Linked DNA regions of Homo sapiens: region 1 is linked to region 2. The links are contacts of gene promoters, found by promoter capture Hi-C in blood cells and fetal thymus (Javierre and others, 2016). All regions are on one chromosome and are shown on one strand. Each heading gives the region's core, a stretch centred on a gene start or on the middle of the fragment in contact. The rest is flanking DNA. Distances are from core to core; before and after follow the strand shown. Region 1 overlaps LINC00620 (long intergenic non-protein coding RNA 620). Region 2 holds the start of SLC6A6 (solute carrier family 6 member 6).

The links. The method cuts DNA at HindIII sites, captures the fragments that hold promoters and counts their contacts. A CHiCAGO score of 5 or more calls a contact.
Region 1: a contact is called between a fragment that was not itself captured here and the fragment with the promoter of SLC6A6 in region 2, in 1 of 17 cell types (total CD4 T cells). The highest score is 7.5, in total CD4 T cells.

Annotation. Positions count from the first base shown.
Region 1 is chr3:13,656,708-13,659,407 of GRCh38, reverse strand. All of the region lies in intron 1 of LINC00620 (long intergenic non-protein coding RNA 620), which reads right to left. Among named protein-coding and RNA genes, the nearest start is that of LINC00620, 7.3 kb to the right of the region's middle. The HindIII fragment of the contact is 1,196 bases long and covers 821-2,016 here.
Region 2 is chr3:14,401,231-14,403,957 of GRCh38, reverse strand. It overlaps SLC6A6 (solute carrier family 6 member 6), which reads right to left and starts at 1,352. Exons shown (of 15, transcript NM_003043.6): 1 at 1,111-1,352. LOC105376959 (a long non-coding RNA gene) reads left to right here and starts at 1,551. Exons shown (of 8, transcript XR_007095825.1): 1 at 1,551-2,727. RefSeq lists enhancers at 169-248, 319-378, 1,699-1,868, 1,879-1,928 and a silencer at 1,029-1,558. The HindIII fragment of the contact is 4,510 bases long and covers 133-2,727 here.

The sequences.
Region 1 (2,700 bases), core at 169-2,668, 740 kb after region 2:
CACCTGCCTTCCCATTTTTGTCAAAAGTGGAAACACTGACATTATTTTTGCGATTCGTTTCAATAGCTGTTTTCACTGTAAATACCACCTTAACCACAAGAAAAATACCCCGGGAGACGCTGGAGGTATTGGAGGTTTCAGAGGAATTATTCCAAGAGGGCTGTGGGTGTCTCCCAAGCACACAGAGAGAAAGGAACATGGAAAACTGTTTCCTCTCCAAGCCAAGGGGGAAAGTGCACCCCGGGGAAAAGTCCCGTGGAAGGGGGCTCACAGGTGCCCCCCCAAGTCCCCTTCCTCCTCTCTGCATCCAACTGCCATCCACACTGCCACCTCCACCCACCCACCCTGGGCTGCCCACCTACTGGAAACACCTCATTCCCTCTGAAAAACATCAAAATCAGGAGGCTCCCTCCCAGGCACCATCGGGAACTAGGGGCCGCAGCTCCAATAGGAAGTTCGAAGAATTCAAAGACTAGAAGGGACCAGATTTCCAAGAATGCAGCTTTCCAAGATTACACAGTCTGGCATGGGTGTGGGCGGGGGGAGGTTGGAGAAGAAAAAGGAACATCCGGAGCTGCAGCCTGAGAAACCACCTGCCCTAGAAGGGAGGGCCCCAAGACATGGTTGGATGAGCCGTGAAGGGAAGCAGGCATCTTGGATTCTAGTCCTATGCCTGCCACAGGGTGGCCTTGGCCAGGCTGCCAACCCTCTCCCGACCTCAGCGTCCCCATCTGTCAAATGGACAAAAGTCTTGAGGGGACCCCTGGGCCTCTCATTCCTGGTGAGTATATGGTGGGCAAACACCTCTTCTTCCCAAGCTTCAATGTTCTCCTCCGAATAGCAGGTCTCTCCCGACTCTAAGCCCCCAGGTCATCAATGCAATTGTCATGATTACTAGTTATTGTCACTGGGCATTGACTAAGTGCCAGGATCTGTGCATGCATTATGCATGTGTACCTGGCATACAGAAGATCCCCACACCATAGTCCTACCATCACTTTACGAGGGTGGAAACTGAGACTCAGGGAGTTGCCCAAAGTCACACAGGTAGTTGTGTGAGGCACACATGGTTGCAAGAAGACAACGTTCCCGAGCACTTGCGATGTACCCCCCTAGAGATGAAACTCTGCTTGCTGCCACTTCACAGATGCAGGCATGGAGGCTTGAAGAGATGAGCCTTCCAGAGCAGTGGAGTGGAGCTGTAATTTCAGCAGGCACTGTTCATGCTGCTTAGGAGGGAGGAACTTTCGAAGAGAGATGTGATGCTGGGTACAAAGAAGCAGCAAGGGAGGGGTCCTGTCTCCAGCCCCGGCTACCTGGGAGTCCCCAGGGTGCTCAGATTCAGTCCTCACCCTCCGCCCTCGTCCCAGCCGTGTTCTCTGCTGCCTCCGTGTGGTCGCTGGGGTTGACGCAGCCTTCCGGAGCCACGCAGCTCTGGGGCTGTGGAGCTTTGGGGCTGTGGAGCTCTGGGGCTGTGGAGCTTTGGGGCCGTGGAGCTTTGGGGCTGTGGAACGGGCTTGAGTAAGGAAGGGGTGACTGCACCGGGCAGAAGGCAAGAGGGCACTGGGGTGCAGGGCACAGTACTGCCCGGGAGTCTCGCTCACTACACTCCAGCCACGCCTCTTGTCAGCACATTCCCACTTCCCAGCCTTTGCTCCTGCAGGTCCCTCTGCCTGGCGCACTCTTCGCTTCGCTTTTCACATCATCCCATTTCCCGCCCAATGGCAGCCCCGCTGTCTAACCAAGGCCCCTCGCTGGTGCCCTCTGACCCCAGTCCTGCTTTGTTGTTCATCTTCCTACTTGTCTCCATCTAATGTCATACTATCGATTTGTTTATTTGTTGACTATCAAATTCTCCAGTAAAATAATATCAGCTCCAGTGTCTGGCACACAGTAGGTGACCGATAAAGACTTTTGGAAAAATAACTGCATGAACATTTCCACTAAATAGCTGTCCCAACTTGTTCACCCCCATACGGCAGCTATGAGTAAAACTGGGAGACTTCTTCATAAGCTTGGGACCTGTCTTCCCAAGGTCCCGGTCCTGCCCACAGATCTACCAGCTCCTCCTAACCCTTCTGCCCCAGGACAACCCTGCAGAGAATTAGGGACAGCAGTGGGGACCCCCTCCAAGCTGAGCCACCCCATCTCCTGACAGAATGCTGTCTCCAGGGCTTGCTGTTCATCTCAGGGTCCACTGATGTGTCTGGAGCTGAGCATAGGAGCCAGAGAGCTCAGAGAATAAAGCAAAACTGGATGTCCCCTCCCTCGTTGCAAGTATAGACCTTTGGTAATGTGGCCTGACAGACACAGTCATCCACTCAACAAATATATCTTCATGCTGCTCCATGCTGATACAGAGGGGTCTATAGAAATGAATCAGGCATGGACATTGCTCATGCAAGAGACATACGGGCTTGGCCCACTTCGTCCTACACACCTCTGTCTGGCCATGTGGCTTTGGGCAAGTCCCTTATCCTCCTCTGCTTCAGTTCCATGTAGGTACAGTGCGAGGCTACTGAAGATGGTCACAAAGCCCCCATCTCACTGATGTTGAACCTGTCCCTGCTCTGAATCTGTGCCTTCATAAGCACCCACACCTGGTGTGCCCACCTGCCCCCTCTCCAACTACTGTTCACCTCCCACTTGCTGCTCAGGGCATGGAAGCCACAGCAGGGAAGAGGGATGGATGGCTCAGGG
Region 2 (2,727 bases), core at 103-2,602:
CCGGGATCTGGCAGAGGCCCAACAGTGACCAAAATAGCCAGGCCGGTGGCCCTACCCGGCACACACCTCCCTGCCTGGGAGAGCTGCCCACAGGTCTCCTCTCCAGTCCAGGCTGAAGTCCAGGCTGAAGCTTTGAGGCTGTAGGAGGAGGTCCCTGGAATTCTCTCTGTGTGGCTTCCCTAGTGGGAGGGGGACGAGAATCTCCTACTCAAAAGAGGAACCCACAGAAGGAAGAGAAATAGTCTGGAGGGGGAAGTGTCCTGCTGGCCCTGCCGGCTGTCCACTACCCCTTGGCTGCCCCTCCGGGCCTTGGTCCCACCACTCAGGACTGCTGGACGCTGGCGCTGCCACCTGCACACCACCTATGGAGTGCATGCACCTATGGAGCCACGCTGCCCTATCACCTCTCCCCACTCAGCGCCGGCCCTGGAGAACCAGCTCTGGCCATTGGACCCTCTAGGCACCAGGGACACCCTCTTGGGTACAGCCGAGGACACACGAGTGCCCACAACCAGGGACCTGGAGACACAACCACACTCAGGGACACGCACGTGCACCTAGCCAGGGCCTGGAAGACGCAGCCCCCCACACACAGATTCATGCAGACACAAACGGGGACACACAAGAGCACACATCCAAAGACAGCACACTCAGGTATCACACACAGAGAGGCACACACACACAGCCCAGCACGCAGAGAATAACAGACATGCACCGGAACACACATGTGCACGCTGCTGGGGACACGGTGAAACAGTCACCCTCAGAAACACAGACACAGGGATACGGAGGCACATGTAGGCATCCTGACGGAGACAGGCACACAGATATGCCACACACACACACACACACACACACACACACACACACACACACACACTCTCCTGCCGCCCGCACCAAGAGCCGGAGCCCTTTTGCCGGGGAAACAATAACAGCCCCGCCAGCGGGACTGAGCAGGCGACTCTCGGTCCCTTCCGCGGTGGTGAAAGGGGCGCCGGATGGGCGCACGCGGAGGGGAGGAGGCCGGGACTGCGGCGACGCGGGGATGGGGAGGGGCTGCAGACGGCGGGCAGCGCCGGCTGCGCGCCCAGCTCCCGGTCCCTCCGGTACCTGGGGTGGCTGCGGCGCCGCCCGCGCTCTGCTCGGCTGTGCCGGGTTCCGCCGGCCGGGGGCTGCCTGCCCGCTCGCTCTCTGACCCGCTGGGTGAACGCTCCGCACTCCCTCTTGGCGCAGCTTGTCCTCTGGGCTTGCGGTCCTCGGGGCTCGGCGTTGGCGGCGGCGCGAAGGAAGCGGTAATTTATAAGCGGCTTCTTCCTGACCTCGCGTGTCTGTTGTCTGAGCAGGCAGCTCTCAGCATCACCCATCCTGCTGGGTGGAAAAATACCAGCTCGGCCGGGCCGGGGGCGGGGCCGGGGCGGGGCCGGGGCTTCCAGCCCCGCCCCAAGTGCGGACACACGCGCGCACACATACACATGCACACACATACACGCAAACACGCACGCGCGCATGGGCTCGGACACACAAAGAACCCGGGCTCGCCGAGCGCGCGCGCACACCCTCATGCCGCGCGGCGAACGTTCGTTGCCAGGTGCGGCAGCCCGCCCTGGGCGCCTCCTGCCTGCGGAAGAAGAGCAGGACAGACCCGACCCGACCCGCCTAGTCCTTTCCTTCACAGCAGCCTCCAAACTCCACCGCTCGCCTCTTCCGCCAGGCTCCTAGGATGAGGCCCAGGGCTCCTGGAGCAGCCAGGTGCAAACCAGACCGGGCTCGCACTCCACTGCGTTGCCCTGGGCGATCGTCCACGTTCTGGGAGACTCGGTATGCCCCGGGAGGGTGGCCTGAGCTTGTGGTGTGAAGCCAGGTACAGAGCTCCAGAATCCTGGCCTTGCCATGGCTGTGTGACCCTGGGCAAGTGACTCAATTTCTCTGCCTCAGTGTCCTCATCTATAAAATGGAAAGGAAAATAGTAGCGCTTGTCTCCTCCGGCTGTTATGAAGATCCAAGGTTAACAGCGTAGAGAACTCGGAACGCACCCGGCATCTAGGAAGTGCCAAGCCAGTGTCAGCTAATGTGACTATTTTTAAATGGAGATGGGGAGTGTGCCATTATTCTTGTCCTTATTTGAATGAACGGGCCCTCAGGGACCATTTTCCACTGCCCCGCCCTGGCAGCATGAGAGGGAAACGCTGTGAGAACCCCGAACCCCAGCCTTCTCCTGTCCCTCTCTCTCTCTCTCTCTCTCTGCACCTGGGAGGCGGGGAGGAGAGAGCCGATCCTTCCACCATTTACACGGAGAATGAAAGAAGAAATACCGGCCAGGCGCGGTGGCTCATGCCTGTAATCCCAGCACTTTGGGAGGCCGAGGGGGCAGATCACCTGAGGTCAGGAGTTCGAGACCAGCCTGGCCAACATGGCGAAACTCCGTCTCTACTAAAAGTACAAAAATTAGCCTGGCGTGGTGCCGGGTGCCTATAATCCCAGCTACTCAGGAGGCTGAGGCAGGAGAATCCCTTGAACCCGGGAGGCGGAGGTTGCAGTGAGCCGAGATCACGCCACTGCACTCCAGCCTGGGTGACAAGAATGAGTCTCAAAAAAACAAAAAAGAAGAAGAAGAAGAAATACCACACAGGTCCGACCAAGAGCTGCCCCCACTCAGGCCAGGATCCCTGCCTGGAAGGGCTCTGCAGCCACTCTCCCTGTACAGCCCCAGGATGCTAAGGAGCATCC